Regions from separate parts of the Homo sapiens genome. Here all the other regions are linked to region 1. The links are contacts of gene promoters, found by promoter capture Hi-C in human tissues and cell types (Jung and others, 2019). All regions are on one chromosome and are shown on one strand. Each heading gives the region's core, a stretch centred on a gene start or on the middle of the fragment in contact. The rest is flanking DNA. Distances are from core to core; before and after follow the strand shown. Region 1 holds the start of NCF4 (neutrophil cytosolic factor 4). Region 2 overlaps CACNG2-DT (CACNG2 divergent transcript). Region 3 holds the start of TMPRSS6 (transmembrane serine protease 6).

Region 1 (3,797 bases), core at 1,298-3,797:
CTGGCCCGTCGCGGGCTCTTCCCTGGACATCTTTGTCCCCCAGGTGCAGAGGTGGCTTCCCAGTGGCTGAGTCAGGGCCACAGGAGGTTTCTTGGGGGGTTGGGGGGGCCGGGGTTTGGAGGGCAAGCCATGAAAATACCTGGGAAGGTAAACTTGAGGGCTTAACCCACCTGAAACACACACATACAGATATACACACTGAAAACGATTAAAAAAGGAATAAGAAATGTCCATGTGTCTAGGCACTTTTATACAGTTTTCTATTAATTCCTACTACAACTCCATTAGGCAAGACTGTTTCACAGATTGGTGAAGAAGAAAGGTTCAAAAAGGACATGTTATCTTGCCTGAGTTCACCTATTATAAATGTACTTGTGTTTATACTCATTTGTCACCGACTGCAACCTAAACATCTAAACACATTCTCTCACAGCCACAATGCCACCACTATACACATTATATGGTCTTTTATAGACACAACACAAATGCACTTACACTTGCCTATGCGAGCTGTATGTGTTTATACACAAATATGTGTTTCCAACTATAGGCATATACTACACACACAGTTTACACAATCACCTACAAATTCTGTATCATGCTTGCTTGCTAAAATTGTTTTGCCACTTCCTGTCCTTCCTGACCAACTGTAGGCCAATGTCCTCCTCTTCCCTCAGTTATGGCTGTGTGCTTGCACCTGTTGGTACTTACAGACACCTGCACTAATAACCCTGCTCTGTGTTTCATTTCATCCTCTAGCCTGGGAGCCCCGAGACACCAGCAACTCATCAGACTTATTGTTTGTATTATTTCTAGTTCTTTGGGTGTGAATTCTTCATGATGTGGAGGCTCTGAGCTGTCTTTCACAGCTCACGATTTGTAGTTTTGGTCTGTGAGTTGACAGAGTAGGCCCTGCAGAGTCACTGACTCCAAGCTGTTTTTATATAATGCCTCAGCTTAGGATTTCTGCACCACGTGGGTAGCTTATATCGGGGCCTTACACCAGTGCAGAGGGCAGGCTTGAGGCTGATCTGGTACACACGTCCCTTGTTCCACCCATGGACTGTGAGAGGACCTCAGCTCCTGCCGTGACTCTAGGCTGATGGCTGAGAAACTCTGTTCCCATAATCAGTTCTGACACCCACTTTACACTGAGAACTCAGATTTGACTTTCTGCTAACAGCAGGACCTGTGGCCTGTACCTAGTCCCAGATTTGGCATTAAAATCTCAGCCCAACAATGCATATCCAATCTTGGTTTTCCCATGGGCTGTTGGCCACGTTCCTCTCCCCCTGGTATAGATTCCTGACCCCTCTCTTTGATCCTACCTAAAAATTATGCTTTCTTGTTTTTTTTAGCTGGGACTTGTATGTTTAAAGTAGTTTAAAACAACTTTCTGCTCTGCATGTATGAATACGAGTGTGTGAGCGTGTGTAGCTGGCAGGGAGTTACTGGGTGTGGCTGTGCCAATGACTCCTGTGGACCTCTTCTCAGAGAAGTCCCTTCAGAATCAAATACCCATACCTGTTAGGAGCTGCAGTCACTGACTGGCAGCGTTTCATTCATTCACTGAATATTGGTTGAGCACTTGCAATGTGCCAGGCACGCTGCTAGCCAAGGAGGCAGTCATTAAACATACAGATAAACAAACAAATGTGAGATGACAATAGTTATGAGTGCTCTGCAGTAGACGTGCAGGGACCTGTGAGAGAATGTAGTAGGGAGGGCCTTAATTTAGGGTGTGTGGTCAGGGAAGGCCTCGCTAAAGATGTAGCTTCTAAGCTGAGATGCAAAGGAGGCAGTGAAGAGCTTTTTCCAGCAGAGGGAACACCATGAGCATAGGCCTTGGGGCGGACGTCTTAGAACATTCTAGAAACGGAAAGGAGGCCAGTGAGAAAAAGGGAGCTCAGGAGCAGAGGCTGGGGAAGGCTGCAGGGCCTCAGGGGCATTGGAGGCAGGCAGGGCAAGGACTCTGGACTTTATCCTGAGCACAGGGTGATGGGGCAGGAGAGTTTAAGCAGGGAGGGTGAAACTCACTCTGATTGGCAGCCCTGTGAAAGAGGATTGGCTGGGCATGGAGATCTAAGGATGAGGAAAGGATATCCCAGAGTGCCAGGGCGCGCAAACCAAACTTCACACTCTAGGAAGACAGAGGCCAGAGGAACCAGGAGGGCTTCCTGGAGGAGGTGGCATTTACTCTGGGCCTAAGAGATCACAGGAAAATGGAGGCCAGCATTCTAGGCCTGGGGAAGAGTTTGGGCAAAGGCTTGGCAGTAAGAGAATAAAGGTGGGGCTTGATGGGCCAGAGGATAAGTGACTCCTCAAGGTCACAAGACACCCTGATGGCTGGGACCCCATCTCTGATGGAGCAAGGCTTCTGATACCCAACTGAGGCTTGGCGCCAAGGACTGACATCAAGGAAGTGGATTCCTGCAAACCTGGCACCCGAGGGTCCACTTCCTCAATTTCTGTGCAGCTGGGAGGTGAGGTAAGAGGAAGTGTGGGCCACAGGCTAGGCCCAGAGAGCCTGGAGGAGGAGCCTCTGCCAGACTGGAGAGAAGCAGGCCTGAGCCTCCCCAAAGGCAGCTCCTGGGGACTCCCAGGACCACAGGCTGAGACGAGACGCAGGGTGGCTGGAGGAAGTGAGAGGTGAACTCAGCCTGGGACTGGCTGGGCGAGACTCTCCACCTGCTCCCTGGGACCATCGCCCACCATGGCTGTGGCCCAGCAGCTGCGGGCCGAGAGGTGAGTGCCGGGGTGTGGCCGCCCCCGGGCCTTCTCACTGCTCCTCATAGGCCTTAGGGACAAAGGCCAGTCCTTCTGCAGTCCCTGATCAACATGAGAGGCTGGGGTTGAGTCAGAACCCAAATACTCAGAAATGCAACCTCTCAGAACTGCTTTAACGAAACTTTGAGCTGTGGCTCACCACCCTCAGACACAAATGAGAACACTGAGGCTCCAAGAGTGGGAGTGACTTGCCCACGGTCACACAACGAGTGACCGGCAGTGTCTGGAGAGGAATGCAGGTGTCCTGGGTCCCAGGCTGGGGCCCTTTGCTTCACATGGTGATCAGCAATGACTTTCCATCTTCTGCGCAAACAGAATTCACAGAATCTGGCTTGTTCTTCCGCTAATCAGGGCTTGCCTCAAATGTCACCTCCTCCAAGAAGCCTTCCTGACAGCCCCTACCTCATTGCTGTCTGACCCTTTGCCCTATTTCCCTTTTCTGCCTGGTTCTTATATTACAGGAATAATATTATATGCTCATTTATTATTTTTTCTTGAACGTTGGCTCCCCCATGAGAAGCAAGCTCCACGAGGCTGTGTCCGTTTTGATCGCTGCTGTATCACTAGGAGGTAGCTCATCCCTATTGAGCACCAGGACCAAGGGCTCAATAAATGTTGCTGAATGAATGAATAAATGAATGAATGAATGGGTGGATCTTTGAGACGGAAAAGGTCTTAGATTCTTCTAGTCCAACCTTGCCATTGTACAGATTGGAAATCTGAGGCCCAGGGAGGATAAGAGACTTACTCAGGGTCACAGAGAGTGACTGGCAAGGTTGGGGCTTGGAGCACGGCCTCACCAGCATCTAGCCTCGTCGCTTGGGAAGCATTTTCAGAATTTTTCCTCAGTAGCCAGGTCTGAGCTCTAAGCTGCGGGGGCCCTGAGGACGCAAAGCCTGGCCCCTGCACCCCCTGGATTGGAACAGCAGGTGACCTCTGTTACCTACGTGGAGGCCACTCAGGGGGTCACCAGAGACAGGCCAGGCTGGTGTGTGCCTACGCGGGGAACA
Region 2 (4,201 bases), core at 1,091-3,590, 140 kb before region 1:
AGTGATAATATCAGTACTAGTGGTAATATTAATATTGGCATTTTTAGTAGTATATGCACACCTCAGGTACTCTTTTCAAAATATACATTCACACTAAAGTGTAAATGTCTGCTGGTATAACACAGACCTCAAATGTGTATGTTTAACAGGAGCAGTTAAGCCAGAGGTGAAGGCATAAAGGTAGATTTTTGAGACTCAGTAAAATCTAATGATGAAGAAAGGGGGTTCTGGAGTAAGTCAAATTTGGATCAAAATGCAAACTCTGCCACTTATTTTGCTGAGTGACCATGGGCCAGTTTCTCACCCTCTCAGTGCCTCATAGGGTAGTGTGAATTTGATAAGCTCTTGTAAGCAAAGCAAGTCAGAAAGCACCTGGCCCCTAGCAAAGTCAATAAACACCCATGGGTAAAAAGGTCAGGAGTGGAGGGAGGAGGTAGCAGAAGCCTCTCATAGAACCCCAAACCTTGCCAGAAGGTGGTGAGCTCACCTCTGTCCATGGGTCTTTCCAGTAAAGGTTCATTAAGCACCTACTATGAGCAGGCATATGCTATGGAACCACAGATTCACTTCTGCTCAATCCACTCATTTCCACAGTTAACTTGCCTCGTAGTTAATCTGGTGGCACGTGAGTTCCGCTGGATCTTAGATATGGTTATCAAAATTAAAATTAAAATGGCCACATGAGGGTTCTGTGGCAAAGCAAGTTTAAGAACCTGCACTAAACAGCCGAACAGGTTCTATGGCTGCGGCACTTCAAGCCTTGCCTAGGCTCCTGTGCCTAAGACTCTCCCAGAGAGCGATGTAGAAGGCAGGCTTCCAGACTTAAGTGACCACAGAACCCAAAAAACTGGAACCTGGCTTTGGGAAACAGTGCTATAATTTCTTAGCATCTCTCCACCCCCATCCCTCCTTGCACTGTCAGCTGCTGGCATTCCTTCCCACCTTGCTGGTCCCCACAGCCCCATTCCTGGTCTCTCCCCTCCCTCAGGAAGTGCAGTAAGGTTTCCCAAGTTTGCATCCTTCACCCGGGTGGCACACTGTCCCCCACACAGGATGAGGGGCTCTGTGCCTGCTATTTTCTGGTTTCTTTCTGTGGGATGTCTTCTTCCTCCCCTGCCTAGCGAATCCTGTTCATCCTCCATGCCTCTGCCCCTGCAGGCAGCCTCCAGCTGTCCTGGTCTGGGATCAAAGCCCCTTTTCAGATCCTTTTGGCCTCCACAGTGTCGCTGTCTCATACCTAATTACTGGTTGGCACCTGTGAGCTTCCTGCTGTCTCCTTCCCCTCCTATTTTGAGTGCTTTGAGGTGGGGGCAGCAGTGCAGTCCCGTGGTTAAGCTTTCTTTCTTTCTTTTTTTTTTGACAGAATCTTGCTCTGTTGCCCAGGCTGGAGTGCAGTGGTGTGATCTCGGCTCACTACAACCTCCATCTCCAGGATTCAAGCGATTCTCCTGACTCTCAGCCTCCTGAGTAGCTGGGATTACAGGTGTGTGCCACCATGCCCGGCTAATTTTTTTGTACTTTTAGTAGAGACGGGGTTTCACCATGTTGGTCAGCCTGGTTTCAAACTCCTGACCTCGTGATCCGCCCGCCTCGGCCTCCCAAAGTGCTGAGATTACAGGTATGAGCCACTGCACCTGGCCAACCCCATGGTTAAGCTTACATGACTGCAGGGGGCTTTAGATCCTGTGTGACTCTGGGCACCTGCATGTGCTTCAGTGTCCTGCTCTGTGAAATGGGAATAACAATTGTAGCACCTCATAGGATGCCATGTGGAGGGAGAAGCAGCCTTTCCCTCCATTTCCTGCTTTCCTTATGTGGGGAGGTGGCAGAATGAAATGGAATGGGCTCAGACCAGGAGCCAGTGTTTGAATGCCGCTGTGAGACAAAGGGCGAGTGACTTCACCTGCTGAAACCTCCGCTTCCTTCTCTGAATGACAGAATGCCTCCATTTCTATTTCTATTGCATGGGGTTGAATTAATAATCTGAGGCTATGCATCTATAGGAGCTGACAGAGTAGGTGCTTAATAAATATTTGTAAAGAAAATATAGACTTGCACTCAGCACCACAGACCTGCGACATGCAACCCACTGGGCTCCCTGAAAGCCTGAGTGGGGAGGCATTTAGAAGGCAGGTGAGTCTATTGCTTCATTTCACAGATGAGAAAACTGATGCCCAGAGACAGTCGGAACTCACCTAAGGGCACACAGCAAGTAGGGGTTAGTAGATCTTAGATAAGAGCCCAGGTCTTCCTGACTTTCAGTCCAGGGAGATTTCGGACTCTCTAGATGGGCCTCAAGACATCTTGGGTTTGGAGAGCATGTGGGGATAGTAAACCACAAAAAAGGCCAGGCACAGTGGCTCATGCCTGCAATCCCAGCACTTTGGGAGGCTGAGGCAGGAGGATCACTTGAGCCAGGAGTTGGAGGCCAGCTTAGGCAACAAAGTGAGACCCCCATCTCTACAAGACAAAAATGAAAAAAAAAAAATTAGCTGGGTGAGGTAGTGTGTGCATGTAGTCCCAGCTACCTGAGAGGCTGAGGCAGGAGGATCCCTTGAGCCCAGGGATATGAGGCTGTAGTGAGCTATGATTGCACCACTGCAATCCAGCCTGGGCAACAGAGCAAGATCTTGTTTCAATCAATTATTCAATCAATGGATAAAACCACACAGATATCAAAAGAATGGGAGTATAACTATTTCTGACAATGCCTTACACTAACTGGCTTTAGTTTTAAAATGGTCAAATACATTCTTTTTTCCTTTTGAGACAGGGTCTCACTCTGTCACCCAGGCTGGAGTGCAATGGTGTGATCATAGCTCATTGCAGCCTCAACTTCCCAGGTTCAAGTGATCCTCCCACCTAAGCCTCCCAAGTAGCTAGGACTGCAGGCATGCACCACTACACCTGGCTAATTTATTTTTATTTTTGTAGAGATGGGGGTCTTGCTAATGCTGCCCAGGTTGGTCTCGAACTCCTGGCCTCAAGTGATCCTCCTGCCTCGGCCTCGCAAAGTGCTGAAATTACAGGTGTGAGCCACCATGCCTGGCCTAATTTCTTCAATGTTCCAATTGTCTTGAGATCTGCAGTCTCCCCTTTGCTTCCAGTTTAGCCTGAGCATGATTTGAGGGTCACTTGCCTCCAGATGCAAGTGTCCGGCAGGCACCCCCTACCCTGTGGCACAGTCCAGTGGGGACAGCTCTTCTGGGCTTGGGCCTGCCCCTCTTGGCCAGGTGTGGTGGTGAAGGGAGGTGGAGACAAGCCACATTACCTGGGCCCTTCCCTGGATGGGACACAATGCTCTGTGCTTGCCCCCACACCAGCTAGACGTTAAGGAGGCTCCCTTGGGGTCTGAGTCCCAGGATCACCATGCACCAAGTCATATGACTTTGGGAAAGCCACCTGCTCCCAGGCCTCAGTTTGCTCGTCTGTGAAATGGAAGGGATGCTGGCATTTCCATCAGCAGTGTTGCAGGGATAGGATAGAAGAAGATAAGCATTTGGGGCACTTAGCAGAGCACATGGTAGTCACAGTCATCAGTATTGTTTCCTTTAATTGCAACTCCTAAAATCAGGGATCCAAGGGACCTCAAAGACACACCCAACGTCTTTGGCCTCAAACTGGGAACGGTTGTGTTACCCCTTTCTCTCACTCTCGTGGGCCCCCTGGCTCATCTCCATGCTGGGGCATTCTCTGGGCATCGCGAAGGGCACGACATTACTCCCTGGCATTTGCAAAGTTGTTTGGCATGGGTGCGGCATTTCACTGTGTACAAGCCCCTTCCTCTGCCCAGTCCATACCTACCCCTCACGTACCTCTAGCGCTTTACAGTTTATATGTCATGCAGCATCTGCTGGGCTTAGGATGCCGACCCATGGTTTACAGAGCACACGGAGGCCCGGAGAGCCACAGGGAGCCCGGGGAGCCATGCGGGCCCCAGGCTTTGCCTCTGGGCGGCCCCACGGGCGGTGGTGCGATTCTGGCTCGGCTCCGGTCCCCTCGGGCTCTACCTTCTTGTGCTCCCTCTGTGTCCTGCGGAAGATGAAGTCTTCCTGAACGAGGCTCGGGAATGCTGCCACTGTTCAATGAGCTAATGGTGAAATTGGAAACTCAAGGGCTGGAGGCAGAGAAAAAAAAAAAAAAAGACAAGCTTTGATTCACAGGCAGGAGAATGAGTGAATGGGGAAAATTCATCCTGCGG
Region 3 (3,970 bases), core at 947-3,446, 250 kb after region 1:
GGCCACCGTCATCTGTCACCTCGACTCCTGCAATAGCCAATCACCCACCCCCCTACCCAGTGAGTTCTCACACAATGGCCACTGCGTGTTGTCACCATGTGCCCTGCCCACAAGCCTCGCACGGCTTCCATCCACCTAGAACACAGTCCCTAAAGACCCAGGGTCTCAGTTTTCCTGTCCTCTTTGCTGAATGGGAGGTTTGCTCCTTGCTGGGCCTGGGATGTTTTCCTTTCTGCTGGCCTCGTGGCTCCCTCCTTTACCTCCTCCAAAGGGTCAGATGTCACCTCTCCAGAGAGGCCTTCCCTGGGCACTCCCGTCTCTCCTGCATTTTTCTTTATAGCAATTACAGAGGCCTAAATTGCCTGATATGCAAATATGTCATTTATCTGCCTCCTCCCTGTCTGTAAGCTGCATGAGAGCAGAGTCTGGTACTCAGCGGACACTCAGTAATTGTTAAATGAATGAATGACAAGGTCCCAGCTCCTTCCTCCCTACAGAAGTCCAAGGTGCTGTGTGCATATGTGGCCTGGCCAACTTCTCCTGCCTCCTTTTTTCCCACCCTCTCTTTTCCCCGTCGCACCCCAAGGACACTGGACTTCCATTGGTGAGAAATTTTAACAATGGGATGGTAGCAAACATTTATGGATTAAGAGCAGCCAGCCGGCACCAAGAGCCCTCGTGGACCTTGAGCCCTGTCAGTGCTTGTTCACGGCCAGGCGTCCCCACACTCTTCCTTCTGCCTGGGCCCCCACCTCCCAACCTGGCCAGCTCTTATGCAGCCCCTGTCACCTCAGTTCAGACCTCACCTCTTCGCAGCTCTCCCAGAGTGCCCTAGAAGGGGCGGCTGCCCCTCGCGATGTGCAGCTTACCTGTGGGCACTCTCTCTTTGCCCCTCACATTGAACTCCTGGAAGCGGGGACTGTGCTCCAATTGCCACAGGGGCCTGAAGCAGTCCCCCAGCTCTGAGCACCATGGACCCCACCCTGGCACCTGCTCCTCACTCCCTCCTGCCCTTCTGGCCATTGGAGGGTCTCGGGTCTGCCTGCTGGAGGCTGAGCTCCTTGGGGCGGGGCCGCGACTCCCCCAGCAATGCAGATCCGGATTCAACCACTGCGTATGAACTCCTACCATGTGCCAGCCCTGTGCTGGGCAGTGCTGCAAACTCCACTGCAGCCTCCAACAGCCTGGGGTGCCTACTTTGCTGACTCTATTTAATGGCTGGGGAAACTGAGGTAGAGAGAGGTAACATGACTTACCCGAGGTCCCTCAGCCAGGGCAGAGCAGAGCAGAGCAGGGACTCTGGGCTAGGGCCATAGGGGCATCTTTCAGTGAAACCATTAGGCCCTAGAGTCCTGAGAGTGTGGGGGACTGGGTGGGGGTCCCTTCCACACATATAAACACACTCACAGACCCACAGATGTACACAGATGGAGACACGCGGAGGGATATACGCACATCTATTCATGACACAAAAATTCATAGATGCACGCCCTTCCTACACAGACACACACACGAACACACATACACATACATGCCAACTCTGAGCCTGTGAGCCCAGGGTCCTGGGCTTAAGTCAGTACATAGGTGCAATGTGGGGCTCCGGGCCTGTCTCCTACACCAGAAGGCCCAGGTGGGGTACCGGGTGTGGAGGGGGCAGCATGTCCAGTCCTGCGAGGCAGGGGTAGGGTGGCCTCTCCCTTCCTCCTGTCCCTGCCACCTGAATCCCAGGCCACCAACCACCCAGCACTGATGCTGTGCCTGTCCACACACCTGGTGTCACCCTGCGTGGTCCCTCCCCTCCCCAGCTCTGTGGGCCCCTCACCTTCTGCTCACTGATCACCCTCTGGCCGATGAGGCCCTGCAGGCCTGGCCTCGGAGCAGGGTAGGTGGCTCAGGCTGCAGGGAGCCAGGCCCAGCTCTTAGGGTGGACACTGTCACTAGGTCATTTATAGATCCCGGTCCCCTGTCCTGGAGGCCCCCGCTTACCTTTGGGAGCGGCAGATAGGTGCCGGGCCTGCACACAGGCCTCAGGAGCCTCTGTTTGTCCAGGCCAAGGCCTCCCCACCCCCACCCAGCCAGCCCAGGCTGGATCAATGGCCTAGAGCCATGACCAGGGTGTCTGGCCCTTGTCCCCTGTGGCCTGTGGCCTCAGGCTCCATGGAACTCCTCCTGCTGGGTCCTGGACAGCACTGTGACTAAGTACAGGTAAACAGGCAGGAGGTAGGAGAAGGCAGTGCCTGCCCCGCCCCATCTTCCCCCACCCCCGCATGGGCACCCCAGAGGCTGGCAGGCAGGTGCGGGAGATCTGAGCTCTCCCCCGAGGCCCGTTGCCTGGTGACATGCCTGCCTGGTTACAGCCCCTGGTCCCCGAGAGCATGAGGTAGGGACAGCCAAGGACTGGGGACTGTGCAGAGGCCGGTGCAGGTGAGTGCAGGGGCTCACAAGGGTGAGTCCAGGTGCTTACCTGGACAGGCGAGACTAAAGGAGCTGCTGGCCTGAGAGAGAGAAAAGGAGGCTGGGCCCATATACTCTGGGGACTGGAGAGGAGAAAGGGGAGGCAGGGGTGGGGTTTGATGCTATTTTCTGTTTAGCTGGGAATTATTTGAATTCCTACCTCGTTCTTTTTTTTTTTTTTTTTTTTTTTTAAGATGGAGTCTCACTCCGTCACCCAGGCTAGAGTGCAGTGGTGTGATTTCGGCTCACTGCAACCTCCGCCTCCCGGGTTCAAGCAATTCTCCTGCCTCAGCCTCCCAGGTAGCTGGGATTACAGCGCCCACCACCATGCCCGGCTAATTTTCATAATTTTAGAAGAGATGGGGTTTCACCATGTTAGCCAGGCTGGTCTCGAACTCCTGACCTCAAGTGATTCCACCCACCTCGACCTCCCAAAACGCTAGGATTACAGGCATGAGCGACCGCACGCAGCATGAATTCCTACCTGGTTCCGTAGCGCTGTGCTGTCCATGACGGTAGCCGCTGGTCACCCGTGGCTCTTGAGTCAGTCTGAACTGAGAAAAGCTGCACGGGGGAGACGCACACCAGGTTTCCAAGGCCAAGTGCAAACAGGATGTCAACCAACGCGATAACAATTTTTATATTGATTTTATGTTGAAATAACACTGGTGATCATGGGATAAATAAAATGTATTATTAAAAGCAATTTTCTTCTGGCTCTCTTGTTTTTTTTTTTTTCAGAGACAGGGTCTCATTAGGTTGCCAGGCTGGTCTGGAGCTCCTGGGCCCACATGATCCTCCTGCTTCAGCCTCCCAAGTAGCTGGGATTACAGGCGCGGGCCACCACACCCCTTGTTGCATGTGGATATTAGACAGGTTAAGTCACAAGTGTGACCTGCGTTGTTGTTCTATGGAACAGCGTTGCTGTGGAGATGGGTTTGAGCCATATGCGTGCCGAAGTGCCGGATGGGAGCCAGGGCTTTCTAGGGTGCGTGCAGGGCAGCGGGCGTCTGTCTCAGACAAGGCTGACTTTCAGCGAGTCTACATCCTGAGGCCAGAATGCGGGGTGCACGCCTGAGATGCTGTGTGCTGTGGGCATATGGGTCCCAGAGTGTGTGTGTAAGAGAGACAGTCTGGAATTTGTGTGTGTAGATTATGTATGTGTAGAATGTGCGTGTGTGTGTGTGTGTGTGTGTGTGGAGCGTAGGGATTGTGTGTGGGGTATAAGATTTGTGTGAGAGGTGTGTCTGTGAGGTTTGTATGGTGTGGGGTGGGGGGTGTGTGAAGTGTGTTGTGTGGGCATATGGACTGTGCATGTGTGTGCAGTGTGGGTGCTGGGAATGTGCAGTGTAAGGTGTGTGTGTCTTTGAGGTACGTATGGTGTGAGGTGTGTATGGAGCATGAGAGGTGTGTGCAGCTGTGTGTGTGTGTGTGTGCATGCTCACAGTATGTGTGGAATATGAGGCATGTGTTTAGTGTGAGGTGTGTGCATAGTGTGAGGTGTGTGTGTAGTGTA

What was found. Contacts are between HindIII fragments. The study calls those that stand out against the background at their distance.
Region 2: a contact is called between a fragment that was not itself captured here and the fragment with the promoter of NCF4 in region 1, in 4 of the 25 tissues and cell types used here (adrenal gland, liver, mesenchymal stem cells and 1 more).
Region 3: a contact is called between the fragment with the promoter of TMPRSS6 here and the fragment with the promoter of NCF4 in region 1, in 2 of the 25 tissues and cell types used here (lymphoblastoid cells and thymus).

Annotation. Positions count from the first base shown.
Region 1 is chr22:36,858,459-36,862,255 of GRCh38, forward strand. It overlaps NCF4 (neutrophil cytosolic factor 4), which reads left to right and starts at 2,548. Exons shown (of 10, transcript NM_000631.5): 1 at 2,548-2,745. The coding sequence starts at 2,714. The region is part of intron 1 of NCF4-AS1 (NCF4 antisense RNA 1); the gene reads right to left. The HindIII fragment of the contact is 13,239 bases long and covers 1-3,797 here.
Region 2 is chr22:36,721,865-36,726,065 of GRCh38, forward strand. It overlaps CACNG2-DT (CACNG2 divergent transcript), which reads left to right. Exons shown (of 4, transcript NR_134623.1): 2 at 1,364-1,483. Among named protein-coding and RNA genes, the nearest start is that of CACNG2-DT, 20 kb to the left of the region's middle. RefSeq lists an enhancer at 4,072-4,201. The HindIII fragment of the contact is 3,983 bases long and covers 350-4,201 here.
Region 3 is chr22:37,107,517-37,111,486 of GRCh38, forward strand. TMPRSS6 (transmembrane serine protease 6) reads right to left here and starts at 2,197. Exons shown (of 18, transcript NM_001374504.1): 1 at 1,987-2,197. RefSeq lists an enhancer at 427-928. The HindIII fragment of the contact is 35,568 bases long and covers 1-3,970 here.